Regions from separate parts of the Homo sapiens genome. Here all the other regions are linked to region 3. Evidence: promoter capture Hi-C in 16 types of primary human blood cells and fetal thymus (Javierre and others, 2016). All regions are on one chromosome and are shown on one strand. The core of a region is centred on a gene start or on the middle of the fragment in contact, and the rest is flanking DNA. Distances in the headings are between cores, read along the strand shown. Region 1 has its middle 46 kb from the start of EXTL2. Region 2 overlaps CDC14A (cell division cycle 14A). Region 3 holds the start of AGL (amylo-alpha-1,6-glucosidase and 4-alpha-glucanotransferase). Region 4 overlaps CDC14A (cell division cycle 14A). Region 5 overlaps CDC14A (cell division cycle 14A). Region 6 overlaps CDC14A (cell division cycle 14A). Region 7 overlaps CDC14A (cell division cycle 14A).

Region 1 (3,903 bases), core at 1,255-3,754, 1.0 Mb after region 3:
ACCACAAAATCAGCAATGTATTTTTTTGGTTTTGAAATTCATAAAAACGGCATATCACACAACATGAAGGGCCATCAGCATATCCTCACTAGAATGTCAGCTACATAAGAGCAAAGGCTTTTGTCTATTTTGTTCACTGATATATCCCAAGTAACTATAAAAGGATCTGGCACATGGTAGGCACTCAATAAATATTTGTTAACTAAATTAATAAAAATATAAGCCTTCCAAATAGTTTTGTCCATTTCCTCATATCTGAAGCTTGACAGTTAGGCTTAGTTGCTTAACTGATTGAACACCATGATTGTCAGATACCATTTTTGGTGGTTTACTACCTTACCTAATACAGCTATTTCACTTGTGGCCTTAGTTAATGCTCTATGCATGAACTAAGCTCTTGTAAATATATCCATTTTGATAATGTAAGTTTTCTTTCTGCTTTTCTCCACTGTCTGATTATAATTAGCTGGAACAAGAAATGCTTCTTTAATATAATGAATTTTGCCTCAGTCATAGAAACTGTAAGATAGGACAAAAGAATAGATTTCCTTCTTTCTGCTGCTGAATCACAGATTCTCCTATGTAAGGAATACTTACTTAACCCAACATCTCAGGGATTCATAGATCTGACCAAACATTAGAGTTCTTTGTTGTCTTGTAATATGTATGCTGTTTTGCTGTATATCACTATCAGCATATTTTATACATTTTTAATGTAATTTACAATGCACAATTCCTTAAGTCAAATGTCCTGCACTGAGAACTCCTTCAGGGATTAGTTTTTTTTTTTTTTTCAAATGTGCATTTCTTAGGTTTACTATTTCCTTAGTATATATATTTAGAGTGTGTGTGTATATATATATATATATATATATATGTATATTTTTCTTCCTATTGCTGTTATGGAATCTTTGCTGGAGGTCCTGTGTGATAAAACCTCCAATATGTGGAATGTTATTAACATTTGCTAAAGACCTTTGGATGCAATGCAGAGTTTCTTTTCATGAGAGAATTGTGCAGTGGAAGAGAGAAGACTGCTTTGTGATTATAGCAGTTCTTTAACTGAATTAAGACAGGCAATCATTGGTGTTTCTACTGTGTTGCCAGGGACTTCTATTTATTATCAAGGCATTCTTTTATATTCTGCTTTGTAAAACTGGAAATTCCCTGAGAAATCACCAGGAAAGCTGAATGCCATATAAAGAAAAGAAAACCGAAACCAAGGAGGACAATATGTGGGAAAAAAAGAAGCTAAGACGTTAGAACTGTGCTATTTCCTAAAGATTAACATGTGTTTGAAAGATATAACAATGTTAGTTTTTGGACATAAACATACATATTGTTTGTACTAAGTGTTGCTTTTTCCTAGTCTGTAATCAATGAACAAGCATCTCTTGAATATGTAGTATTTACTTAGCACAGTTTGAGACACTGTGGGATATTCTAAAGAATAATCTGTAGAGCCCTTGCCTTTCAATAGCCTACAATAGAGTAGGAGGAATACAATGGCACATTTAAGCCATAAGACAAGGCAAGATGATACTTAATTACCATAAGTACTAAATTATGAGGTACAGACTATTAGTACTGTAAAATGTACTGGGTTCCCAGAATACTCTCCTTCCTATCTGAGTGGTAGTTACATGGGTATTCTTTTCACAACCTGTTTTAAAACTGTGCACATGTTTTATTTACCTGTTTTAAAATCATAATTCACAATAAAAATGTTAAGTGATAGAAAGAGAAGGAGAAGAATAAGGCCTGGAATAACTGGAATAAAAACTTGTGGGGAAAATATAACTTAAGAATTGGCACAGAAGAGAGAGCAGATCAATACAAATGCAAATGTAGCACAGCTGTGGATGAGTTGGGGTGCAGATGGGTTGCAAGGAAAGAGGGTACCAACTGGAGTGGGCTTGGAGTTTGGGGTGGGTTGTATGGGGTGGTGCAGTAGCTAACATGAGCCTGGACAATTTGAGAGTTAAGGGTTTTGGGGTTGAAGGAGGACCTTGAGATGGAAGTAGAGAAGCTTAGACTGATGTACCAGGTCATCCATATGTTTGGGATTTTAAATTAGGTGAAAGATTGATGACAATGGAATTCAAGAAAAAAATAATGTAGCTGTGCTATGTCTTCTTCACGAAAACAGGATAGGAGCAGGAGTGAGAAAGGGAAGCAGCAAATGAATCATGTAGCAATGAGAGCCTCCTCATCATTACTGGAGAGGAAGAAGTAAATGTAAGAAACACTACAGGTGAGAAATGCTCACGACTATGTAGCTGAGAGGATGTGGGGATGAGCAGGATAAATGAACCACGTATTTTTTGCTCTTGGGAGAATAATAGTGCCAGTGATAGAGTAGTTGGTAGAAACAGTTGGTTAAGAGGAGGAGGTAATTCTGGTCTTTCAAATGTAGAATTTGGAGTGATAATGACAGTAGGGAGTAGCTATATGGGCATAGAACAAGGGCACATAGAGAAATTTTGATGAGCATTTTCAAATGTAAAATACCACAACCAGAAATGAATCCCCATATTGTGTTATATGACAGATATCATAAAGCACCTAAACGATGCTGCTCTCACATCAAAGGCTAAAAATCAAGGTAATTCTCCCTCCTTGAATGTGGTAGCCAAACCCACATATTCCTCTCCCTTTCCATTTCTGACAGTTCCATAAATACCTAAATTCAAAGCAAAGCCTATTTATTTTATCAGGGAGAAAGCAGATGTTCCAGCTGTTGGTGATTTCTGTGCAAGATGAGCCATCCTTACTACATTTTAAATCTTTTTGAACTTGTGTCTTTTTAGCAAACTTGGAGAATTATACTATAGAAATGGAAATCTATAAAACTCCAAAGGGCAGACAGAATTAAGGAGGCAGATTTTGATTCAATAAAGAAAGAACTTTCTAAAAATGTGAATGATCCATAAATGGAAAAAACCTAAGTATATTCCCTCTTCTGGAAATATTTTAGCAAAAGCTTGACTCTGTAGAGATTCTATATATAGGATTCTTACTTTGAGTCAGTGATTGGACTAAAAGACTTCCATGACACTTTATATATTTATTTTCTCCCTCTCATGTATTGAGGCTCAGTGAGGAAAATTTTGAATAATACCAATAAATTTGCTCATTTATTCATCCAAGCAGGTTTGTTTTTCCTATGAGCCAGGAACTGGGCTAGGCATTGGGGATGAAACAGTGAAAGAGACTCTGATCCTTGTCCTCAGTAATCTTGTAGTCTAATAAGGGATACAGTGACCAAAGTGTTAAATGCTAACATCGAAGTAAATACCTGGAACTCAAAGTGAGCATAGCTCACTCTTAAAGAGTCAAAGAAGACCTATCTGAAACATCAACTATTGCACCAAACTGGACTGTTGAAGACAGAAGAGGCTTAAGTCCTTTCTATCAGTCTACTTGCCCAATATTCACTATCTACACACAAAAATTCTATGAGCAAAGCCCATTTTCAGAAAACACAGCCTTATAGAAGGACTTTCAATATGACAGAATGAACTACAGTTTCAGAAATGTAGTTTGGCTTTCTAGAAAACATAAATCCATTTGAGTCTAAAATATTTTAAAACCTAAATAAAATCCTTATCCCCATGAGATGATATGGACAAGTATTAATTGCTTTCTCCTATATTACCTTGACCCTGAACCTCCCCTATCCAGGCAACTAAACTGAATTGTTCCAATGGCCCAAGCAGAGATGTGAGGAAGAAGGGAAGGAGAGGGAATTACAGCACAATCAGAAAATAAATATAACACATTCTTGGCTTTTCAGTTTAAAATGCCCACCTATGTGATAGAAAGATTAAATCAAATACTTGCTGGAGCATTTTCCTCTCTCAGAAGAAAATAACTTAAACCTTTATCTGGACTAAGAGAAGA
Region 2 (3,812 bases), core at 480-2,979, 580 kb after region 3:
CTAGAATTTTAAAATAATAATACCAGAATAGAAGAAAAGATAGTAAGATAATTAATACTACTTAACATAGAATTGATTTCAATTCTACATAAATACTAAATTTATAGCCTATTTTTCAAATATTTTTCACTCAAATACTTTTATGTAAATATTTGAAAATATAAATACATTAACATAGTTCAGAAATTTAAAAAATCTATATAGGAAGGTTTAAGTGAAAATTATCCCTCCCATCCTTGATCCTCATCTGTCTAGTCCTTTCCAGGTAACTTCTGGTATTAGTTGATTTGATATCAGTCTAGAATTTCTTTATGCACGTATAAGTAAATGAAGATATGCACCCATTTCCTACTAAAAGTATGCCTTTGAATGTAACTCTAAGTTCTATCTTTTTGATATCTTAGGATACCAAGAGTTGTATTTACATTAAGCTTCATTTCTAAATCTAGAATCTTCATAAACCATACATTTGAAACAGAAAATACCACAAAGTAGTACATTTATAATTTAGTGAAGAATTTAGTTGAAAGAATACTACTAGTTTTCTGGAAACTTAATTTTTTTATTATGCTAAGATAAGATGTGAGTTGTTTTTAGTCTACAGTTCAGGCCAACTAAGACTAATGGACTTCTATCAAGAATCATCCTCATACTAAATTCTGGGCAGCCATCATTGCGTTGGCCTTCATTATAATCTGGGTTTTATTATCACCAGGTTTAAAAAAAAATCCCATTTCTTATGAAATTACACTTTTGTCTTCATTGTCTAGATTTTTTCAACTGCTGATATATTAACACTTTTAATTAAAAATGAGAAGCCTTAAAGGAATTTCTATTTGGATGTAATTGTTTTATTATTTAAAATTTTTTAAAAATGAAGATGATTTTGAAGGCTTGTTGAAGGTGTGGTTGGTATGTTCATATACACTTTTCACTGAAATGTCTGTGTTCCCATTTGTGCTATATATTTTAGTTTCTTTCTAATAAAAGAGTTTTATGGCTACTGTGAATTTAAATAATGCTGTTTTTCAAATTTTTTTCACTTTGCAAACATTTATCTGAGCAGTCACTTCTGTAAAGCCTTCCTCATTTTTCTGGAGAGGCTTGGCAGGTCCTTTGCCTGTGATTCCCTATTACATTTTATGTATTACAAGGCTACATACAACGTTAAAGCAAACACCTTGTATTATAATTATTTGTTTGCATGGCTGACTCTTCTCTTGAGGGCTGTGGTTGGTTCTTTTCCTATTGTGTCCTGAGGGAGCAAGTATACTAAAATATATTTATTGCTTTTTCAGTGCCAGTCACTGTGATAGTCCTATGGATCAAAAGATGTTTAGGACAACTTGGTACCTGCTGCAGGAGAGCTCAGTGTATAGTCTGTATACATGTATAGGTGTGTAAAACAGTTACAGTGCTTTGTTAGAATTAGGAGAGAGGTGTTATGGGAATACTGAGGAAGGAGGTTTAACTCTGAAATGGGGGGGTAGGAGAAGATGTTAGGAATAGGCCCCATGGAATGCCTTTCATGTTAGGATGAAAACTGGAGAACAGCAATTCAGGCACTGATTTTAGGTGCTAATTTTATTTATTCGTATGGCATAGGTTGTATAATGGTATGTTAGGTAGTATATATAATACGAAGTTCACAGTATGGGTACATTATTATAACCAAAAGAATGATCTGATTTTATTCCTACTTAGATTCTATTCACCTAGTTAAAATTAACAAAAAACGAGAATTGTGTAGCTTTAACTGCCTATTCTTGATTAAATTAAGTATAGTTGACTTTAGAGATAGTTGAATTTCTGGCTTGTGTGACAGCAGTGAGTGTTGTGATGTCACTTGTGAGTCAGTCTCAGGATGTTCTGTTGAATTGGAGGGTAGGTGTGTCAAAAACTGTATTCACTTTTACTGAGAATAGCCAATGTGTTGATTAAGAGTGACTTTAGGTGAAAATCAGGGGAAAGGGGTGTTTTTCATCTACCTTAATTCTTTGAGTCATCCATTTTCAGTGTTGGCTTGGCAGTTAGCCTTCAAGGGAACAAGAGGCCTTTCAGTTCTGGGGTCAGACTCAGCAGAGTTTGAATTGACAATCTAGGTATGAATCTTTTTAGGTTCTCTTCCTTTCAGTGTACTACTAAATTATAGTGTATACTATTGAGCAAACAAAGTCGTATTAATCTCAGCTTGTCTAAAACCCCAGGAGACCAGTGACCCTTAGTGGAATGTCCAGATTGTTTTCATGGCAGTCAGTGGCAGTGGTTTTCAAATCTACATTGTTGGTGCTCACAAAACAGTATTTGTGAAAATTTAAAGTCCCGCAAAACATTGAAAAGATAACCAATCTAAATTGTACAATTCTTATTTAAGATGTCTCTTGTGCTTTTAAATTCATTTTATACTTATTTCTTTGTTTATTGGTCCATATGTATCAGGTTGGTACGTTTTTTAGTATTGGTGATAATTCCTAAATCTCCTAAAAGCCAGTTTTTAAAATGACATATAGGCCGGGCGCGGTGGCTCACGCCTGTAATCCCAGTACTTTGGGAGGTGGGCGATCACTTGAGGTCAGGAGTTCGAGACCAGCCTGGCCAACAAAGTGAAACCCTGTCTCTACTAAAAATACAAAAAAAAGTAGCCAGCCATGGTGGCATGTGCCTGTAGTCCCAGCTACTCGGGAGGCTGAGGCAGGAGAATTGATTGAACCTGGGAGGCAGAGGTTGTGGTGAGCCAAGATCGCGCCACTGCACTCCAGCCTGGGCAACAGAACAAGACTCCATCTCAAAAAATAAATAAATAAATAAATAAATAAATATAAAATAAAATGACATATACAATTAAACAGGGAATAAAATTATGCTGACAATAAATAACATCCAGGGATCTAGTTCTGAAGACATATCCAGAGAGCATGGCATGAAAAATAATGACTAAGTCTGGAGGTAAGGTTAGGTAGGGTAATGTGCTGACAGTAATGGAATAAAGCTGTGAACATTCGATGTCTTATCCCTTTAGTTTTTTCCTAAAGCTTGGAGAAGAGGCTAGAATTTACAGGTGTTTCTCAAAGTTATGTTGATCCTCAAACTTATCTGCATACGTGGGGAGCTTTAAAAAACTACTGATCCCTAGATTCTGTGCCCAGAAATTTTGCTGTAATTGGTCAAGGGTGAAGTCAGAGTTATTGGGATTTTGAAAAACTGCATATATGATGCCAATATGTGTGGTCAAGGTTGAGAACTCCTGCTCTGTAAGATGTACCATGGCAAAATATATATATATATATCAAGTATATTTATATATATATTATATATATATCAAGTATATTTATATATATATTATATATATATCAAGTGTGTATATATATATATCAAGTAAATTTAAAACTCTCCATCTTGGAGATTTACAAAGCAAATTTCTGTTTTAAAGATTCTGAATGGTTCTGAGTAATGAAGTAACCTGTTTAGCTCTGTATAACCCAGAATTTTCTTTCTTCTTTTTGTTTTTTTGAGATGGAGGTTTCACTTTGTTGCCCAGGGTGGGCTTGAACTCTTGGGCTCAAATCCTGTGTAGTTGGGATCACAGGCATGCACCACTGCATCTGGCCCAGAATTTTACAAAGTACTGATTTTCTTCCTCCTGCCCCATACTTTCCATTAATATCCAGCAGAACTCCTGTTCTGAAACACTCTGAGGCATATTTCCTGATCCACACCTGTGTGGAACAAAAAACATCTCTTGGGATTAAAATAATATGCTAGCATTTTGTGGAACATTTTTTTTATGCTGTTTCCTGAGAGTCTTGGAAATA
Region 3 (4,301 bases), core at 1,765-4,264:
GGGCAGTGTAATGAGATAGTCATAGGAGAGACTGAAAGTGGGAGGGGGCATGGAAAGGGAGAACTTGAAGACAAACATAAATGTGATCTGTTTTCACAACATGGTCAGGGCCTCACTCTGCTAACATTTGTATGTACGCTAGTACTTAGTCTCTATCAGGCACAGTTCTAAGCCCTCATTTACTTAACAATAGATACTACTTTCATCCCCATTTTATAGTTGCAAAAACCAAGGCCCAAAGAGGTTGAGTACCATGCAAAGCTTCACAGCTAGTTAGTGGCAGAGCTGGGATTCAACACCAGGCACCACTTCATAATCATGAATTATCATTTTACACAGCATGCAATCTAGAACAATCACTTTCAATCTTGTTTTTAACCATAATCCTTCCAGTAAGAATACATGACTCAGTACACCAAAACATAAGTAACAGAAATAGAAGTTTTGTGAAATAATACTTTTACCAAATGTAATGCATTTGGTAGTCCCAGCTACTGGGAATGGATGAGGAAGGCTGAGGGAGGAGGTTGAGGCTGCAGTGAGCCATGATTGCACCACTGCACTTCAGCCTGGGTGACAATGAGACCCTGTCTCAAAAAGTAAAATAAAATAAAGTAACTTTTTCTATTGGTTATATGTTGAAATGATGCCTTGGATATATTAAGTAAATTATATTGCTAAAATTAATATTACCTTTTTCAAAACTTTCTTTTCTTTTCTTTTTTTTTTTTTTTTTTTTTTGAGACAGTCTCGCTCTGTCACCCAGGCTGAAGTGCAGTGACATGATCTGGGTTCACTGCAACTTCCACCTCCCAGGTTGAAGCGATTCTCCTGCCTCAGCCTCCACAGTAGTTGGGACTACAGGCATGTGCCACCATGCCTGGCTAATTTTTGTATTTAAAAAAGTTTTTTTAATGTGGCTACTTGAAAATTTTAAATGACCTATGTGGCACTTAATATTTCTATTGGACAGTGCTTTCTGCTCATTCAGGCCAAAAACCTTGGAGTCATCCTTGACTCCTTTCTCCACCAATCCTGTAGGTTCTATCTTCAAAATAGTCCAGAATTCAGCAACTACACCACCTGCTATACCACCTCCCCCCCATCACCCCCAACCCCCCGACACAGAGAAAACACACACAAGTCACTTTCTCTTGCTTGAATAACTAAAATAGCTTTCTAACTGGTCTCCTTGCTTCCTTCCTTGCTACACTCTACAGTTTATTCAACTATTTCCCATAAAGTTGCGGAGCGATCCTTTTAAAAGGTCAATCAGATTATGTCACTCCTCTGTTCAAAATCTCCATGGCTTTTTTTCCAAAGTTTAAAAGCCCAAGTCCTTGCAATGGCCTACAAAGCCTTAAAAGATCTGGTCACCCGTCTGTGCTCCTGATCCCTTCTCCTGCCCCATCTGTCTGTCCTAATCTCTTACCACTCTCTTCTTCACTCAGCTATGGTGATCTTCTTCGGTTCACCAAGTATGCTCCTGCCTCATGGCCTTTGTACTTCCTATACCTCTACATGTAACCCTCTACCTTAGACTTCTTCTTTCTCGCAGTTTGGCATCACTTTACTGAACGTTATATTTAGAAATGCAAACCTCTCTCTGCTTACTCTTCCACACTTCCCCCTTCCTATTATATATAGGATATAACATATCCTTCTTATTATATAGGATATATTATATCCTGTATAATTTATTTAATTTATCTGTCTCCCACCAATAAAATGTAGGAGTTCCTTGAGGGCAGTGACTGTTTTATTGCTGCATTCCCAGCACCTTATGTGCCTGGCAAATAGTAGGGGCCAGAAAATGAGCTGTGGGTTCCCAAAGTCAGTTACGGACCATTTGCAACTAGCCATTCTCAGAAATCTACAGAAATAAACAAATACTTCAGTATGGGGTTTTTTTTTTTAACTTATATCCTCTTTGGACCTACAGTCATTCCACAATAAAGAATGCAAGAATCTTCTCCACACGCCACAAGTCTTAGTTAACCAAATCTTCTGTCCATTTTCTCATAACCATTAGGAGCCCTCCAAAAGCCCTGGAAGATGGGTTTTCCTTTACCCTCAGGCATTAAATCTCCTTAAGCATCTGCAAAAAGTTCTGAGTTACTGGCCTAACATAAGTGCAGCTTAATCTCAGACGATCTCCGGGTCTATCTAGTGTACATGAGGTACACCCGGACACCGTTAAGTATCAGTGGTGTTTGCACTCTCGATGGTTTGCAGACTGGCCACACCTTACCTACTGGGTCTGCATTCAGGAACATGTGTCCTGTCTGTTAGCACTAGAAGTGATGGACACGTGTTGGCTGGAATGTCAAGGCTGTAGCCAGGCCCCTTATTTTAGACACTTAGAAATCAGGACTCTGAGAACTTAGGCCAAGTAAAAATTATCAAAACAAAGAAACAAAACACGTGGTGGCACAAAAGACACCAGAAGCCAGGTCGTTTGCCCCTCACCATTCAGCCCTTCCCAGCAAAAGATCCTACTGTGCAGCTCAACCTAGCTCGCAGCCGGTACCGCGGGATTTTAATGTGCAACTGTGAGCTCGCAGGCTGTTAAAGGAAGGCCGCGCCTTGGCCGGTGCACCTTCCCCAGGGCAAGGAGAAAGCGCCGCTCCCGGCCTCAGCCGCAGCAGGCTCCAGGTCCCCCGGCCCGGAGCCGACTGAGACGGTGCGGTGCCCACGCTCTCGCGAGACTAGCGGTCGGGGCGGGCGGGTCGAGCCTCCCGGAAGTGGGCCAGAGGTACGGTCCGCTCCCACCTGGGGCGAGTGCGCGCACGGCCAGGTTGGGTACCGGGTGCGCCCAGGAACCCGCGCGAGGCGAAGTCGCTGAGACTCTGCCTGCTTCTCACCCAGCTGCCTCGGCGCTGCCCCGGTCGCTCGCCGCCCCTCCCTTTGCCCTTCACGGCGCCCGGCCCTCCTTGGGCTGCGGCTTCTGTGCGAGGCTGGGCAGCCAGCCCTTCCCCTTCTGTTTCTCCCCGTCCCCTCCCCCCGACCGTAGCACCAGAGTCGCGGGTCCTGCAGTGCCCCAGAAGCCGCACGTATAACTCCCTCGGCGTAAGTGCTAGGAATGCCGCTGGCCTCGCGGGGAAACGCATTCTTTCTATCTATAGCTCGCTCTGTACATCTTCTGTCTACGGCAGCTATTCCAGAGGCAACAACTGCTTCCCTCTGTTCTCATCTCCCCATTGGTGGCTGGCGACCCGAATTTGGGAATGGGGAGATTGCCCACCTGTTATCTTTGAGCAGACTAATCTCTTGTAAGCAGAAGTGCCATTCGGAGTCTCCAGAGCCCTGTGGCTTGGGGCTGGGAATGTCCCCCTGACTTCAGGCTTTCCTAAGTGTATTGCTTTTCTCTGAGAATGGTCTAGGTTTTTAATTTTTTAATTGTAAGAATCTGTAATACAGCATTTTTATTTCGGTCTTATTCGTTGTGCTCAAAGGCAGGAAACAACTATTAATTTGCCTTCTCGAATCTTAATAGTTATAAGATTCATTCTCTTTCATTGCTCTGCTAGGCATAAAACACACTTCGAACATGTAAGTGCCGCTGTCAGCTCTGGAGAGTTTAAGGCAATAGTTATTTTCGATATTTTAACTCCTTTTTGTTTCATAGGGGTAACTCATTCGACTGTGGAGTTCTTTTAATTCTTATGAAAGATTTCAAATCCTCTAGAAGCCAAAATGGGACACAGTAAACAGATTCGAATTTTACTTCTGAACGAAATGGAGAAACTGGAAAAGACCCTCTTCAGACTTGAACAAGGTCAGTAGCAAGTTGTTTTGATTTGCTCATTTGCGTCTTTTAAACTTTTAATTCATTGGCAGTCCTGTTAAATGTTTTAAAGCTCTAAGATAAATATTATTTCCAAGGGTCTAAAACTTGATTTGTGCAAAGATGGTGCTGTGTTCTCCATATATCACTAATTAATGTTGATTTGAATTAAAAATATTTTATATCCCTCGTGTTAGGATAAGGATAAAATAGTTCTCTTTTCTCTGCGTACTAATTCCCACTTAAGATTGAAGTTAAATATATGATCAGAAGATTGCCCATATTATTTCTAATAACATTTACTATTAAAACTTGGTAAATTACTTCATATGTAATTTTGCTTTGGGTATGCATGTAGTTTTGCCTTTGTATAACTGTCTCTTTTCCTTTGTTGAACCTTTGAATTGACAAAATAGATTGCAGCAAAAAGTATAGTAAACTATTGTTTATGTATATCAAAAACTTCTCAAATGTGGAGTAGGTAAAAGCTGAAAATATTTTCTTAGCAAATAAA
Region 4 (3,905 bases), core at 620-3,119, 610 kb after region 3:
CACTGCAACCTTCATCGCTGGGGCTCAAGCAGTTCTCCTGCCTCAGCCTCCCAAGTAGCTGGGACTACAGGCACACACCACCACACCTGGTTAATTTTTTTGTATTTTTAGTAGAGACGGGGTTTCACCATGTTGCCCTGGGTGGTCTTGCACTCCTGAGCTCAGGTGATTCACCTGCATTGGCCTCCCAAAGTGCTGGGATTACAGGCGCGAGCCGCCACGCCCAGCTGGAGATATTATGTTTATTACAACTAGATTAAATGCAGTTCAGATGTTTATAAGATGGTATGCACAGTTTCACATATAACTTTTTATAACTGGGAAAAAAATCTGCATTAAAAAATGACAATTATATTTTATAGCCAAGTTTTGATTTTCATGGAAATGATAATGGGTAATATAAGTAATTAAAGTAATGGCTCCAGTTTTTTTTTGATGGCCATATTCCAATTTGTTTAACAAATATTTATTGTGTTCTTATGGTAGAGTACAGAGTCTATATTGGGTCAGTTTTCTACTGTTGAGGTCCTTGCCATATAATGGGGGGAGAAAGCTTTTTATATGGATGGTAACGGATGGCCCAGTGAAGAGAACAACATTGCTTCCCTGCCCTGAGGATGGAGACAAGGAGGGCAAGGGTAGGGGTAGGTGGGGAGGGGGTGGTGGTGGTAAAGACAGCGTAAGTGAAGAGGTGATATATATATTTTGTGATGCATTGCACAAATGCCTTCTAATGACTGCAAAATTTGGGGTAACCTTACTCGTGCCCCAGTGTCCCATGGTTCGGAGGCACATGGGGAAGGGAAGAAAATGGGGGAGATGATGGAGCCATGGGAATGTGCTTGGCTACTTTCTTGGTCTTCTTAAGCCTTTTCTGAGGATCTCTTAGCGTGTTTAGACTAGAGGCTGATAACTGGTGCTCAAAGTCAGCCAATGGGCATGTTTTATTTGGTTTCACAGGAGTTAAAAACCTAATTTAAAAAGTCAACATTTTAAAAAGAGAGTTTTCACATGAAAATTCAGTTGGAAGATCAGCTGTGTTCAGTTGGCTTTCCTACAAGGTGTCTCATTAGCTGGAGTGGAGGAGCACCTGACTCTATGTATGTCCCTTGCTTGAATCTTGTTATCCTCCAGAGTACAGCTTGGCTGACTCTGGTTTGTGGAATGGATGCGCCAATATCACTCGCTCCTGCCTTTTGCCATTTCCCCCTCTAAAAATCAGCATTGACAAGAGATAACAGCCCTATAAAAAGAGAAAAAAAATTGGAAGTGTATTCATCAGGAGCTTGATATTTACAGATGTTTTTTCATTGTTTAAAATATGTTTACTACATTCATGGAAAGTTTTCATATTTCCCATTTTCTCTTATTTATCGCCAAGACAAGCAATGTTTGTTTCCATTTCATTTCTTTGCAGTGGCCAGGAAACAAACATTTTATGCAAAATACCTCTGCCGTAAATAAAAGTTTCTAAACATTTCATACAGTCTAGACACAAGTTTTTCTAAAGCGGATTGAATTCCTAAATAGCATTTTGAGAATCAGGTGCATGTTTTTATTTTAAGCTATGTTTGTCTACATGTATGTCTAATTAGTACTAAGAGTGAAAAGCAGTTTTATTTGTAAGGGTTTCCTAAATTGTATAAGAATTATAAAATATTTTTCTTCTCTTTTCTTACAAAATTCTGCCAGCGAGTTGAAAATGGTGACTTCAACTGGATTGTTCCAGGAAAATTTTTAGCATTTAGTGGACCACATCCTAAAAGCAAAATTGAGAATGGTAGGTTTTTTTTTCCTTTACCATCCAAACATTTATTTTGATTTATCTTTCTAAGTTTCTTAACTTCCTCAGATAATTATTTTCTTTGGTAATATTCTCCAAAGAATATTTATTCATAATTTAAAAAATTGAACAGTAGTAATAGTGTGTTAAATATTGTATTTCCAGTAGGTGGAGCTATAATCACTGTTTTAGAACTTAACAAATTTTTAGCTTGCCATAAATAGGATGTTCACTTTACCTGACCCCCAATTATTAGAGAAGAATCTGAGAAACAAACTGGTCAAACTCATAAGCAGATTGCTGTATTCTTTCAGTGGTTCTCAGATTTATTTGTTGGTAGAGTGCTACACATCAAGATGTTCTTTGGGTAACACCATGTTGAATAATGATGATGAAGACAATCTGTCATTTACTGAATACTTAGGTGCTAGTTACACAGATCACAGCATTTATCTCTTTTAACACTCAACACAACTCTATGAGATACAGATATTGTTATCTGCATTTTAGGGAGGAGTAAATTGAGCCTTATTAGTAGAGAATTTGCCCAAGGTCACAAAGTAATAGGCAGAACTGGTACTCCAAACCAGAGGAGGGCTCCTAAACATTGCCACTACACTGATACACTTAGTTCCATTGTGACAACTAGGTACAATTTTCTAGCTGACAGTGGTTAAACTACTTATTTGCAGCATAATTTATTGCCATGGGCATACATATTTAGGAAAAAAATAAAAACAAAACTAAAAATAAACCTTTTGAATGAAACATGATCAGCTATGCAAGTTTTCCCATTAAGACTTATTTTGTACTTACTAATTTTTTCTATCTACTAATATTCCCTAGAAAACAAGTAATGATAGACAACAGAGGTTCAAGAATAATTTACAAGAGAAGTACATAAAATTGAAAAAATATCCATGAACAAAATATCCCCCCCCCTTTTTTTTTCTATCTGATCATAGAGGTGGAATACCAGTGTTCTGAGGGAACCTAACTTGAAACCTCTGGTCTAGATTTATTCTTCAGCTGGGCATGGTGGCATGTGCCTGCAATCCCAGCACTTTGGAAGGCTGAGGTGGGAGGATTGCTTAAGGCCAGAAGTTCAAGACCAGCCTCGGCAACATAGCAAAACCCTGTCTCTTAAAAAAAAAAAAAGATTTATTTTTCTTTAATCATCATATTCTAGAATCTAGTTTCATTGTATATTGTTATTCATGCATTTAGGTTTTATAATTTGAGCTTTCATAAATATGCTTATCATTTCATACCTGTGACATATTTAATAGGGAACTCTGCTTGAATCATGATTTTACCATGCGAATGGGCAATCCAGGTCTAGAGAGTTAAGCTCACAAACAGGATACCTCTATGGTGAAGTCAGAATTTGATCTTCTTACTTATAAGCTTGCTAAATAATCTTTTTTGGTCTGGACATTCAATAATTAACCTCTGTCATTTTGGGTTGTTAGGAATTACATGTTGAGAGCCTGAGGAAACTGCTTTCTGACAATTGGCCTTTCAAGATAAGACTGATTAAACCTGCTTTCTGTGCAAATTATCTGACTCAGGCCCAGGAAATGTTAGTAGGGATATTGTTTCAGTAGTAGTTTTGTTGTTGGGTATTTGGCAAAGTCGAAAGACTTTCACCATTTGTGATTCATGTGTTTGACTACGTTTTCTTAATGAGAAATTGAGAGATATAATTGTAAAAGCCATTTAAAAGTTTTTATGTATATAGACATTGTATATTCTATGGATACATGCATTTTGAAAAAAATTTTTTTTTAACAAAAGTGGCATCATAACATAGTTAATATCTTACAGCCAGGTTTCTTCACTTAACATATCACGACTTCTTTTTATAGCAGTAAATGAAGATCCATGTAATCATTTTCCACGACTGCATTGCATTTTGTTCTACCATATGACTGTGCCATATTGTGTTAATTTATTTTTGGTTTTTGCTTTTGTTTATTTAGAGACAGGCTCTTGCTTTGTTGCCCAAGCTGGAGTGCAATGGTGTGATCATAGCTCATTGCAACCTTGAACTCCTGTCCTCAAATGATCTTCCTGCCTCAGCCTCCCAAGTAGCTGGGACTACAAGGCACAGCCCACCACA
Region 5 (4,323 bases), core at 138-2,637, 660 kb after region 3:
TCCCTTGTCACACCAGTCACTAAGTCCTATCAAGTCTCCCTCTAAAATGCCTCTGTCCTTCCATTCTTACCACTGCTGCCTTAATTGGGGTCTTCATGAACTATCGCATAGCCCTTTCTGTCTTCCTGTCTCTTACCTTTAATCTTTCCTCTATACTGTTGCCAGTGTTAAATTTCTGAGACACAGAGCTAATCAAATCCTTCTCATGTTTGGCTTTGTTCAGTGGCTGCACTCTGCCTACTGGGTCAAGTCTGGCTCCCCTGGCTTGGCATTCAGGGTTCTTCCCTGTCGGGCTGTGTGCCTCCCTGCCAGCCTCCTCTCCAGCAGCTCTACCTGGCACGACCTGCCTTAAGCCTGAACCCTAGCACTTGCAGTCCACTCTGCTTTCCCTTGTTTCTCTGCTTGATTTTGTATTTCTTGACCTGGCTCGATAGTTATCTTTTTGATAAGCATTTGTGACCCATCTAAACAGAATGGCTCTTCCTTTCTCGACTCTCCTAGGAGCGCTGACACTCTCATATTATAGTCAGTTATACATGATTCTCTCTCTCCTCTGCTTTCCTTTAAGCTTCTCAGAAACATCTCTTGTTTCCTGAGGTTCCACAGTACAGTATAAGTGCCTAATAAATACTTATTGAACTAAAAGTCAGATAATGTATCTGGGTTCGTGAATGTTAAAGTGTTTAGGAGCCTGGGTCTCATTGTTAGCATATGAAGCACTAACAGAAAACAAACAAGTTTCCAGCTTTAGCTTTAATATACGGTAATCTGGGAGTTGTGTATTTTTTTTCTAGAAATGTGGCTTTACTAAAATAAGAGAAAATAAATTTTAACTGAGTTTGCATCAATATAATTTTGGTGTTCAGATGAACTGAAAACACTCATGTAATGGTTGGCTGAGTCAAGCTGGGTGTCAACAATCTGTCATCTAACAATTGAGCTCTTTGTGATTGTTGAAAAGCATATATTAAATTTCTCCAGAAAAAAGAATCTATTAAAAATCATGTAGGAAGGTGAAAGACTATTTTATATAGCATTATAATGAGCCCAAATTGGCTTTTTAAGTCTTGAAGTCCCTGAAATGCACAGAGAACACTATGGAAAAATGCACACACACCTTTCGAACCTGATTTTAACACAAACCTTCATCCTTTTATCTTAATATGATGCCAATAAAACCATACCCAGCTACATTTCATCTAGTGTTATTGGAGGAAATATGTATCATATTAACAGAGGCAAATTCTTTCAGTATTGTACATGTTGGGTACAATATACACTACTTGGGTGACAGGTGCACTAAAGTCACAGACTTCACCACTATACAATTCATCCATGTAGCCAAAAACCACTTGTACCTCAAAACCTATTGAAATAAAAAATAAAAAATACTTTCAGTATTGTGAAACCACAGTTATGGAAATAAGTATCAATGCACACATTTTATGTGTTAATTTGTGAGCAATACAAAAACTGGAAACTCTATTACAAAGGCTTAAAGAGACATAGGAGTACAGAGGCAGTTATGGGTGTATTTATTTTTCCCCAGTGTTGTATTTGTTCATTAAAACTTAAAACACTATAGTTATGTATATAAAATACCATGTTGCCAAGCATGTATTTTTTCCTTTAATTTCAATCACATTAAAACAAACCATTTTTATTTTAGGTTCTTTTTGCCTCTGTGGTTAGAACTTAAACCAGGGATAACTAGTACACTATTGTTTATTCCTTAAAGGACTGGGGAAAATGTAGGAAAGAAAATGTCAGTGTGGCAAAAAAGTCCATGAACATTTTGAATCAGGATTTTGACCTTAGTAGGATGCTAACATTCCAGGCCATTGGATCCTTTGGTTCAAGTTATTTGAACATTAAGACATCGTTACATTCATTTGCTGTCAAGGACCTTAATCTTTCATTATTCTTTATAATTTGCTGTTTTTGATAGCTAACATGTTTTATTTATTAACCATCTGTACAATATTTATATCTGTAATTATTAGACATGTTCCTGCCATGATTAGGTAACTGGGCTGTTTAAAAAAGAAACACCTCCAGAATAGCTAAAATTTTAAAGTTACTACCTACATCTGCCAAAACAGATTAGTAGCAGATTTCCAGAACAGAACAAATTGTCTTGATCTCCTTACCTAACACTTTGTTTTATGTCAAATCTTACTGCTTTCAGGGAACAAGACTTCTTGATGGAAGCTTATATTTTGACATAAAAATTTTGGGGGCTGCAAATGTAAGGCAATTTTATCCTTATTTTTCAGGTTGAATATTGCTACATTATTAATTTTATGGTATTCATACAATAAGAATACCACATATTCATAATAAACTTGATCTGGTCCTAACTCACTATAACTCTGTTGAGCTTACTAATTAAATGAGCTTGAATATTATATTTGAGAAATTAAAATCTCTTGGTTATATAAACAAGGGCTAACTTCTAAAATAATATTTGTACTTCAGGTATAAAAATTATTTTCACTTTCTTTATAACCATCTTCACTGTCATTGTTATAATTTATTTTGTATTTCAGATTCATTAATTCATTATTGTAACAACTAAAAACATTGGCCAATCAGAATTAAAACTTTAATCAACTCATAATACTTAAGCATGGATGTTCTTATAATGAAAATTTCTTTTAAATTTAGAATATTCCTGAAAATTCTTTGAATTCAGGCCTGATGAAAATCATTCAAAAATGTATTTATCTTTTAATGCAACAAATATTTTTTAATAATTTTTTTTATTCACTCAGAATCATATCTTGCCTAAGGTCATTATTTGTCTATGTTAGGGTGATAGAGAATGTTGGATTGAATATGTAGTGATCACAAGGCAAATGCTCGCTGTCTTGAGACATTAAACTATGGTAGCTAAGGGTTTGAGCTTTAGAGTCAGACTGCTAGGGTTCAAATTCCAGCTCCACCAATTCTTAATTACATGAATTGGGGCTAATTACTGCTTTGTGCCTCAGTTTCCTCATCTGTAAAGTGGGTTGTCTGAAACATTTAATGCGTGAATATGTATAAGATGTTTAGAACTGTCCTTAGCATATAGGAAGTACTCAAATATCTAGTTCAGAATAATTGATGTGTCAAGTAATATATCTAATTTGTTAAGAAGTTCAGCTAGTTGTATTTAATCTATTTTTGAATACGAAAATCAATAGCAATAATATTGTTCATGGAATTCAAAATGCAAATGCAATTTTACTATAAAATGTAATTTTACTATAAAAATTAAAAATGCCAGTAACTGGCTATAGTCTTTTCTGGGATATTAGTAATTTTACAATACATGGACATTTGGAAAACATTGTATATAGTTGGTAGTCCTACCTGTGACTACAAAAAAAGCATGAAGTTATGCTTTGTTACGATGTGTATTAGGTCCCACCAGGCACTCATCTGGCTTATCTATCTAACCTGTCTAAGATTTGAAATGGAGAGTACTTGTGTTTTTCCTTGAGGTTTCCTCAACTGTGGCTGAGTACAAATGACCCAGAGAGACCGTCAGCACAACCCCGTAGGATAACCATGTGATACCTGAAGTTTAAATATTCCTGTCATCCAACACTGTTGCTCCCTGAATAGAAAGGTCTCACAGTGTTAGTTATGCTTTTGTTAAGTGAATAGATCTTGGAGACTTGAACAATTCTCTTCTCCCCTTAGTGCATTTCTTTCTTTCTTTTTTTTTTTTTTTGAGACGGAGTTTTGCTGTGTCACCCAGGCTGGAGTGCAATGGAGTGATCTGAGCTCGCTGCAGTTTCCGCCTCCCGGGTTCAAGTGATTCTCCTGCCTCAACCTCCCGAGTAGCTGGGATTACAGGAATGTGCCACCATGCCCTGCTAATCTTTTGTAGTTTTAGTGGTGATGGAGTTTCGCCATGTTGGCCAGGCTGGCCTTGAACTCCTAACCTCAGATGATCCACCCGCCTCGGCCTCCCAAAGTGCTGGGATTACAGGTGTGAGCCACTGTGGCCCCCTTAGTGCATCTGTATTAAGATTTTTATTTTAGATTGAAAATGAAAGGAAGTTAATTTGTTACAAAATACTGATGTCAGAATAATTTGCTGAACCCTTTTTACTGATCTTTCATTTCACTTTCCTTTATACCATATAAAGAAACCATGGAACATGTTTTGTTTTGAGGACTTTGGTATTGTATTTTTATCCTCTAGTGCTTAATAGATACAACTTATGTTCAGTAATTATTTGTTGAATGAATTGAACTGGTGGGACAGAAGGTCAATTCGTTGGCCAAATGGTGTCATCATTTGTTTGCAGAGGCCTGCAGGGCCAGTTA
Region 6 (3,982 bases), core at 1,007-3,506, 620 kb after region 3:
TAGCAGCATCAAAAATCATTTGGATATATTTGTGTTGATCTATTTCTTTGTTCTCTATTCTGTTCCATTGACCTATGTGTCTCCTTCCTTCAATGCCACACTCTCTTGATTACTGGACCTATATAGTGAGCCTTAATATTGGAAGAGTGATTCCTTCCACTTTCTCCTTGTTTAACAAAATATTCTTAGCAATTCCACTTTCTTTTCCTTTTCATATACATTTTAGAGTAAGCCTGTCTAAATCTACAGATAATGTTTCTGGGATTTTAATAGGAAGTATGTTAATCCTCTATATCGATTTGGGGAGAATTGACATCTTTACTATTGTTGAGTCTTCTAATCCATAAACATGATATGTCTTTTCATTTATTTAGATCTTCTTTGATTTCTTTCATCAGCATTGTGTAGTTTTCTGGATGCAAGTCCTTTTTTGTTAAATTTACACCTAAGTACTTATTTTTTTTTAGCAATTATAAATGGTATTTATGTCCATATGTTCATTGCTGGTATGTAGAAATACAATTGATTTATCTTTTTCTTTCTTTCTTTTTTTTTGAGACGGTGTTTCACTCTTTTTGCCCAAGCTGGAGTCCAATGGCACGATCTTGGCTTACTGCAGCCTCTGCCTCCTGGGTTCAAGTGATTCTCCTGCCTCAGCCTCCCAAGTAGCTGGGATTACAGGCGTGTGCCACCACGCCCGGCTAATTTTTTGTATTTTTAGTAGAGATGGGGTTTTACCATGTTGGCCAGGCTGGTCTTGAACTCCTGACCTCAGGTTATCCTCCCACCTCGGCCTCCCAAAGTGCTGGGATTACAGGTGTGAGCCACCCTGCCTGGCCACAATTGATTTTTCTGTTTATTTTGTATCCCGAAACCTAGGAGTTTTATATGGGAGTGTGTGTGTGTGTATGTATGTGCAAATTCTTGGGGATTGCTTTTTCATCCACAAATAGGACAATTTTATTTTCTTTCTAATCTATATACCTTGTGTTTCCTTTTCTTCCCTTGTTGGACAGGCTAAAACTTCCAGCGCTGTGATGAGTAAGAGTGATAAGAGCAGACATCCTTGTCGTGCTCCCAGTCTTGGAAGGAAAGCATCCAGGCATTCACCTGGATTAAGTATGTTAATTGAGGTTTTCTATAGATGTTCTTTATCAGGTCGAGGCGGTTCCCCTCTATTTCTGTGTTTCTGAGGGTTCTTATCATGAATGAGTGTTGAATCTTGTCAAATACTTTTTTGGCATTGATTGATATGATCACATGATTTTCTTCTTAAGATTGTTAATATGGTAGATTGCATCGATTGTTTTTTGTATATTGAAGAAGGCTTATGTCCCTGGAATAAACACCATTTGGTCATGGTGTGTAATTCTTTTTATATATTGCTGAACTCTGTTAGTTAAAAATTTTTATGTCCATATTCATAAGTAACATTGGTTTGTAGTTTTCTTTTTTTTGTCTGTTTTGTCTGGGTTTTGTGTCAGGATAATACTAGTTTCATGAAATGAATTGGGAATTGTTCTTCTCTGTTTCCTGGAAGAGATTGTGAGAGCTGGTGTGAATTCTTAAAATGCTTGGTAGAATTCTCCAGTGAAATTATCTGGGCCTGGGGATTTCTTTTTAAAATTATGAATTCAATTTCCTTAATAGATATAAGGCTATTTGAATAATCCATTTCATATTGGGTGAATTATGGTAGTTTGTTTTTTGAGGAATTAGTCCGTTTCATCTAAATTGTCAAAATTATGTTTGTGGAGTGTGTTTTTTTTTTTTAAAGTATTCCTTTATGTTTGCAGAGCCTGTAGTGATTTTCTTGGCTTCATTTCTGATGTTAGTAATTTGTGTATTTTTTTTTCCCTTTGTCAGTCTCCCTAGAAGTTGGACAATTTTATTGATATTTTCAAAGAATCAGCTCTTTGTTTCATTAATTTTCTCCTTATATTTTTGTTTTTAATTTCATTGGTTCATGTTTTTATATTTATTATTTCCTTCTGCTTCCTTGTAGTTTTCAGTATTTTGGCAATGTGTCTAGGTGTGGATTTCATTGGAATTATCCTTTTTTGAGGTTTACTCAGCTTCTTGAATGTTTAGGTTTATGTCTTGTCAAATTTGGAAGGTTTTCAGCTATTATTTACTTAAGTGCTTTCTCAACCCTGTCCTCTTTTTCCTTTCCTTCTGGAACTCTGTTGACATGAGTGTTAGGTTTTTGTTATAGTCCCACAGCTCTCTGGGACTCTCTTCATCATTTTATTTTTAGTTTATTTTCTCTTAGTTATTCAGATTGGGTAGTTTCTACTATTCTATCTTCCCCTTTACAAATTCTCTCATCTCTCCATTCTGCCATTTAACCCACTCACTGAATTTTACATTTTGGTTATATGCTATTCTAAACTTTCTGTTTGGTTTTCTTTATATCTATTTCTTTGCTGAAACTTCCTATTTTGTCAGTTGTTTCATGTGTCTTTGTAATTGTTTGTTGGGGCATTTTTATCATGGCTACTTTTAAATCTTTGTCAAATTATTCTAACATCTCTGTCATCTTGGTGTTGGCATTTAGCGATCATCTCTTTTCATTCAGTCAATGTCAATGTGAGAAAATGTTAACCTGGACATTTTCCTAGTATGTTGAGACTCTGGATCTTACTAAAACATTCTGTTGTATCTGGCTTCTTACACTGCTTCAGCAGAGGAAGGTGGTGGCAGCTGGGTTGGGGGGCAGGGGGTTGCCACATTGCTACTACCAGGTGGAGGCAGGAATCTGGATTCTGTACTCAGCCTCTGTTGATGTCCAAGGCTGAGGGGCTTCTTGTTGCTGGTGGGTGGAGGTGGGAGTTCTAGTTTTCCATCGGGTCTGCACTGACACTGTGATAGGGGTCACCTTGTTACTGAAGGGTGTTGGTGAAAGTCTTCACTCTCCACTAGGCCTCCTGTGACACCACTCCAGCTGACAGAGGAGGGTTGCTGGTCACTGCCTGGTTGAGGTGGACTTCCAGGTTCCACCATTACTACCTTAGTGAGGAGTGGGGCCGAAATTGGGGGATCTCATTATCTGACTCCCAACTTAGCCTTCTTTGACACTTCTGTGGCGAGGGATTGACAAAGGGTAAAGGGGTGCCTACCTATAGCCTGGCAGCGTGGAAATCCAGGATCCCCTCTCAGTCTTTGCTGGCTGGCAGGGTTAGGGCCACAGTTTATTTCCTGTGGGGTTTGGCTGGAGAAGAGCAGTTGTTGAAATGTTTTGTTGTCTACTAGGATACCCTTTTCCTGTTCCTTTGACTAGACAGAGCAGGCTTTTCTTCGGGCTTTAAAAATATCAGCTCTGGGCTGGGCACGGTGGCTCATGCCTATAATCCCAGCATTTTAGGAGGCCGAGGCGGGCAGATCGCATGAGGTCAAGAGTTTGAGACCAGCCTGATCAATGTGGTGAAACCCCGTCTCTACTAAAAATACAAAAATCAGCTGGGCATGGTGGCATGTGCCTGTAATCCCAGCTACTTCGGAGGCTGAAGCAATCAATTGAACCTTGGAGGCAGAGGTTGCAGTGAGCCGAGATTGTGCCATTGCACTCCAGCCTGGGCGACACAGCAGGACTCTGTTGAAAAAAAAATCAGCTCTATTGGCATTTTTGAATCATATCTTCTTCAGCCCTAAGACTAGGCTATATAAGGCAAAAGGAAAACTCGAGGAACTCACCACCATTTCGTTACTTAGGTCTCAAGGTTCCAACCAATCTGCCTTTTTCTTTTCTATTTTTCAGAGTCTTGTTTTTTTTTTTAAATATATATAGGATTTTAAATTTTACTTATGGGAAGAATAGGGAAAAGTACATCTACTTTATTTTCCAGAAATGGTGTTATTGCCTTATATTTTAAGGTAATTAGTCTGCCTATAATTTTCGGCATGAAATCTGCTGTGGCAGTCTGAATAATGTCTCCCCAAATACAGGCATATTTTAATCCCTGTGAACCAGCTGTGAATGTTA
Region 7 (3,964 bases), core at 253-2,752, 640 kb after region 3:
AAGCTTTTGTCCTTATTCTTTCTTTCCCACTGGCCTTGTGCTTTGCATTTCTTTATTTCTTTTTTAAACTCAGAGATGTGATGGTGAGGTTTGATCTTTTTACTGTGGAACCCAACATAGGTGGCCGGGATTGAGGAGGTATTGCGATGAGAAATGACTCAAATGTGACTTGATGGAAGTACATTTTTCATCAAACAAGAGTTCTAGTTTTAAATAGGGGAGGGGACTATTACGGCTGGGAGGGATTTTAGCAAATCCAAGCACTTTGATTTTTCAGTTGAGGAAAAAAGGCAAAATACAGTCTTCACTGGTGCAATGACAGTGTGCTATGGCATATATTTTAGAAAGAACATTGCATCTTGGGACAATAAATCTAATTTTGAAGTCACACAAAGGTCATTAAGAGCTTATGGGAGCTTGGGCAATATTCCTAACTTCCATGAGTATGTCCTTTTTTCATCGATAATAAGGGTACCAGTGCCTCCCCCTGCATCAGGGCTATTGAAGAGACTAGCATTTGAAGAGACTAGCATGGTACTTCTATTTTTCAAACTTTAAAGAGTTATTTCAGAAGGAAAGATCTAGTGAACATGGTCCTTTAAATCCTTCTGAAAAGGGCTTGTGTGCTTTTACTAGTGTTACATGATTACTGTGTTAATAACTTACTGTATAGATATCCTAAAGTATTTTTATCTTGTATTTTTGTAAACAGGTTATGGAATTTGCAGTGATGGGTCCTGGTAGTATCTAAAAACATATTTGTACTGCATCTGTGGGCCCTTCTGTATCTAGGCTATATTCCAACGTATGATTGTGTCTGCAGGAGAGTCTCCTCTGTTGCTGTCCAGTGTAACAAACAGCTCCTTGTATATTCTACCACATCTATTCCCATGCTTCATTGATTTGGAATTTGACTTGTTGCCTGTTGAACTGGCAAATAGTTGAGTGTTCTTTTGTGTAAACTTTGACAATGCTGATTCACAGTACCTTTAGTGACTTAATCTATATTAAGATAATCTGTATAAAATGTATCTATATATGTAGTCTGTTAAGAAACCTATATAAAGCCAAATTTTGACCTTTCTATGGAACGTGTATTTTTTTCCAGGATAACTTAGAAGATGATGATGTGGAAATGAAAAATGGTATAACCCAGGGAGACAAACTACGTGCCTTAAAAAGTCAGAGACAGCCACGTACCTCACCATCCTGTGCATTTAGGTAGATCTGTTTTAAACACTTCAATTTATAGTGTGCTTCCCTTTGTGAATAGAACATTTCATCTTCTCTTTAATCTGTAATCTTCTGTTTTGAATTTTGTTCTACAAATACTAAGTTTACTATTTTGTGTTGTTTATTGATTATTTTATCACTGTTGGGAGTAGCTAAAGTTTAGAAGTTTATTGAAAGCAACTGCTGCCATCTCAGTCTCTGGAATTCTACCTTAAGCTGCAAAGCAGTTATCTCTGGGACTCTGTTTCAAATTCTGTTTGGATTTCTCCCCTTCTGCTGTGAATGAGTTTCTTGTCCTGTGTTGGATCCTCACAGGTGTGCTGAGGCTGTTGTATTGACTCATAGTGTATATAAAAGTATTGTATGCCAGTCTCTGGCAATCTAAGCTAGTTCCTCAGCTTTACCTTCTATTTTTGAAAATTGAATAAGCAATTCTTACCTGTGCCTGTAAAGTTATAAGCCATCTTGACTTTGAAGTCTCAAACTACTCACCAGAATCAATGATGGGACTTGACTTCTGATCACATTTGAAACCTGCTGATAGCTCAGATTGGGTTTAAAAAAAGGGGAATCAAAAGGTGCAAACGTTTGTAAATATCATCATTTTTTAAAATTACAATATACTGGGTGGCAAGGCCCCAGTCCACAAATTAATATAATGGTAAGCAGCAACATTTTTTTGACTTATAAATAAGAGATACACATAGCAGAAGGATGTTTTGCCGGTATGGTAAACACCAAACAGATTCACAGGGAATTTAGTTTTCATGTGTAATCTGGGAGAAACTATAACACTGTAGTCAGATTGGGTCTTTACTGAGTTCCTGATCTAAGGAATAAAGGTTCATATTGCTCAAAGATGAGGTTATCATTTTCTGCAGTATTATGAGAAAAGGGGATAGCAAGCCTGGTTCTGGGTAATCTAATATCCATTTGCAAGGTTTCTCCCTTTTGCTAATTTAATATTTTTACTGGTTTGATACCATTTGATGTGCCTTGTGGTCTTTGTGAAAACGTGTGCCCTGGTGATATGTGAGCATCTGTCTTTGATTTCCGCAGGTCAGATGATACAAAAGGACATCCAAGAGCAGTGTCCCAGCCTTTCAGGTACTGCCAATGAGGTTGAATGTCTAGTAGCTTGTAAATATATGCTTCCTTTTAGCCATGTTTCCCAAGCCTCAAACACGAAAATCAACTGTACACAGCTTTTTGCTTTTTAAATTGCTTCCTTTCTCTTCCATATTGTTTATGCCTTATTTTTAATGCTCACCATGAAAAGGATTTTTTTTTTTTTTTGCTGGCATGCCCACAGGACTGTGTGGTGGTGGTAGAGACATCAATGTATTTTGTGCTCTTAGCACATTGTGGAGGGGGGTCTCTAAGAAACTACAGGTGCTCTGCATTTCTCCTTTTGATCTAGTGATAGATCTAGCTTAAATTGTTTTCATTTTTATTGGTCCTCTTTCTATTTTTTCCCAATCAGCATGCATTTGTTCCCCTCCTTTATTTTCTAGTCTTATTTTCTTCTCTACCTTCCTTTTCAAGAGGAAACACTAGTTTTGTTCTGTGGAAAAATGTCCCCTGAAACCTCCGGGAGTGGTACCACGATCTGGTGTGGCACTCAGTGAGAGCAGCAGAGATGTTTGGCCAAGAGTGTTGATGAAATAGGGGAAAGAAGCTCTTCACCTGCTGGTTCTTATTCATTCTTAGGTTTAGGACTGTTTAGTGAGGGCAGTTCAAAGAGGGCTTAAGCATCTGGAGCTTCTGGAGAAGCTTGAATTGCTTCTTTGTAGAACTTTTTCCATTTTTATTTTGGAGGCAAAACATGAGCTTAAGCTGCTGTTTGGTGGGTGGATAATGAAGGAAAGAGTCTACAAGTAAATAAGCTTTTCTCTAGCAGAGAGGAAAACAGAGTTCAGCTATATTAAATGATTTATCTAGGATCAAACAGATTTGGTATTAAGATTATGACTGGGCCCTGGCTCTCCAGATTTGAGTCAGTTTTTCCTTTTTGTCCACTTGGCAAATATTTATTGAGCACCTGCTCAGAATCCAGCATTGTGCTAGCCACTGGGAATTGAAATGAGAGAGAAGTCTTTGCCCTCAAGGAGCTTACATCAGGTAACGGAGATAGACAAATATCAGATGACGCAATATGGTATAAGAGCTATGATTTACTATGAGAATATATGATGAAACATATATTGCTTGGGAACTCAGAGAAGGCTTGCTTGATGAGGTAACAGCTGATTGGACCATTAAAGGCTAAGTGTGATAGAAGTGGGTCAAATGGACATGGAAGATAAGAGGTAGAGGATGGGAAGGAGATGAGAAAATGCCATGGCAGGGAAATAGTCTGTGCAAACTGGACAAACGTGTGGACGCTACCCATTCAGGGAACTCAAGGCATTCTTATGTAGCTGGAATAGAGATGTCCAATGGGAAAGTGTGGAAAGAAGGACCTGTCCAGATTTTGGAGGGGCTGCATATGCCAAGCCAAAGAGTTTCTATAGGCTTGTGGGCACAGAGGAAAGATGAAATGATTTAAACAGTGAAGTGACATGATTCACTGAAGGCTATTCACAATTTGAATTGTTTAGGAATAAGATTAAAAGATGCCACTTGTAGTCAAGGATAAGAAATAAAGATGGCCTCGCCTAGGGTAGTTTGCAGGGTGAAAAGAAGAGGATGGATTTGACATATAAGAAGTGGAATCTAAGGTTGTGCTGAG

Evidence for each region. Contacts are between HindIII fragments. The CHiCAGO score rates a contact against its expected background, and 5 or more counts as called.
Region 1: a contact is called between a fragment that was not itself captured here and the fragment with the promoter of AGL in region 3, in 1 of 17 cell types (activated CD4 T cells). The highest score is 5.6, in activated CD4 T cells.
Region 2: a fragment that was not itself captured here is called in contact with the fragment with the promoter of AGL in region 3 in 2 of 17 cell types (total B cells and M1 macrophages); the score reaches 5.9 in total B cells.
Region 4: a fragment that was not itself captured here is called in contact with the fragment with the promoter of AGL in region 3 in 2 of 17 cell types (M1 macrophages and fetal thymus); the score reaches 5.6 in M1 macrophages.
Region 5: a fragment that was not itself captured here is called in contact with the fragment with the promoter of AGL in region 3 in 1 of 17 cell types (neutrophils); the score reaches 6.5 in neutrophils.
Region 6: a fragment that was not itself captured here is called in contact with the fragment with the promoter of AGL in region 3 in 7 of 17 cell types (non-activated CD4 T cells, total B cells, activated CD4 T cells and 4 more); the score reaches 7.6 in non-activated CD4 T cells.
Region 7: a fragment that was not itself captured here is called in contact with the fragment with the promoter of AGL in region 3 in 1 of 17 cell types (activated CD4 T cells); the score reaches 5.1 in activated CD4 T cells.

The regions. Positions count from the first base shown.
Region 1 is chr1:100,846,429-100,850,331 of GRCh38, forward strand. No RefSeq gene overlaps it. Among named protein-coding and RNA genes, the nearest start is that of EXTL2, 46 kb to the right of the region's middle. The HindIII fragment of the contact is 954 bases long and covers 2,028-2,981 here.
Region 2 is chr1:100,426,417-100,430,228 of GRCh38, forward strand. All of the region lies in intron 5 of CDC14A (cell division cycle 14A), which reads left to right. Among named protein-coding and RNA genes, the nearest start is that of CDC14A, 76 kb to the left of the region's middle. The HindIII fragment of the contact is 2,601 bases long and covers 430-3,030 here.
Region 3 is chr1:99,847,347-99,851,647 of GRCh38, forward strand. It overlaps AGL (amylo-alpha-1,6-glucosidase and 4-alpha-glucanotransferase), which reads left to right and starts at 3,015. Exons shown (of 34, transcript NM_000642.3): 1 at 3,015-3,069; 2 at 3,629-3,778. The coding sequence starts at 3,697. RefSeq lists enhancers at 2,161-3,135, 2,336-2,485, 3,136-4,109 and a silencer at 2,666-2,985. The HindIII fragment of the contact is 4,640 bases long and covers 260-4,301 here.
Region 4 is chr1:100,453,713-100,457,617 of GRCh38, forward strand. CDC14A (cell division cycle 14A) reads left to right here. Exons shown (of 16, transcript NM_003672.4): 8 at 1,693-1,780. Among named protein-coding and RNA genes, the nearest start is that of GPR88, 82 kb to the right of the region's middle. The HindIII fragment of the contact is 2,637 bases long and covers 552-3,188 here.
Region 5 is chr1:100,511,681-100,516,003 of GRCh38, forward strand. All of the region lies in intron 15 of CDC14A (cell division cycle 14A), which reads left to right. Among named protein-coding and RNA genes, the nearest start is that of GPR88, 24 kb to the right of the region's middle. The HindIII fragment of the contact is 1,643 bases long and covers 567-2,209 here.
Region 6 is chr1:100,472,849-100,476,830 of GRCh38, forward strand. The region is part of intron 10 of CDC14A (cell division cycle 14A); the gene reads left to right. Among named protein-coding and RNA genes, the nearest start is that of GPR88, 63 kb to the right of the region's middle. The HindIII fragment of the contact is 4,684 bases long and covers 1-3,982 here.
Region 7 is chr1:100,493,710-100,497,673 of GRCh38, forward strand. It overlaps CDC14A (cell division cycle 14A), which reads left to right. Exons shown (of 16, transcript NM_003672.4): 12 at 1,109-1,221; 13 at 2,293-2,340. Among named protein-coding and RNA genes, the nearest start is that of GPR88, 42 kb to the right of the region's middle. The HindIII fragment of the contact is 3,003 bases long and covers 2-3,004 here.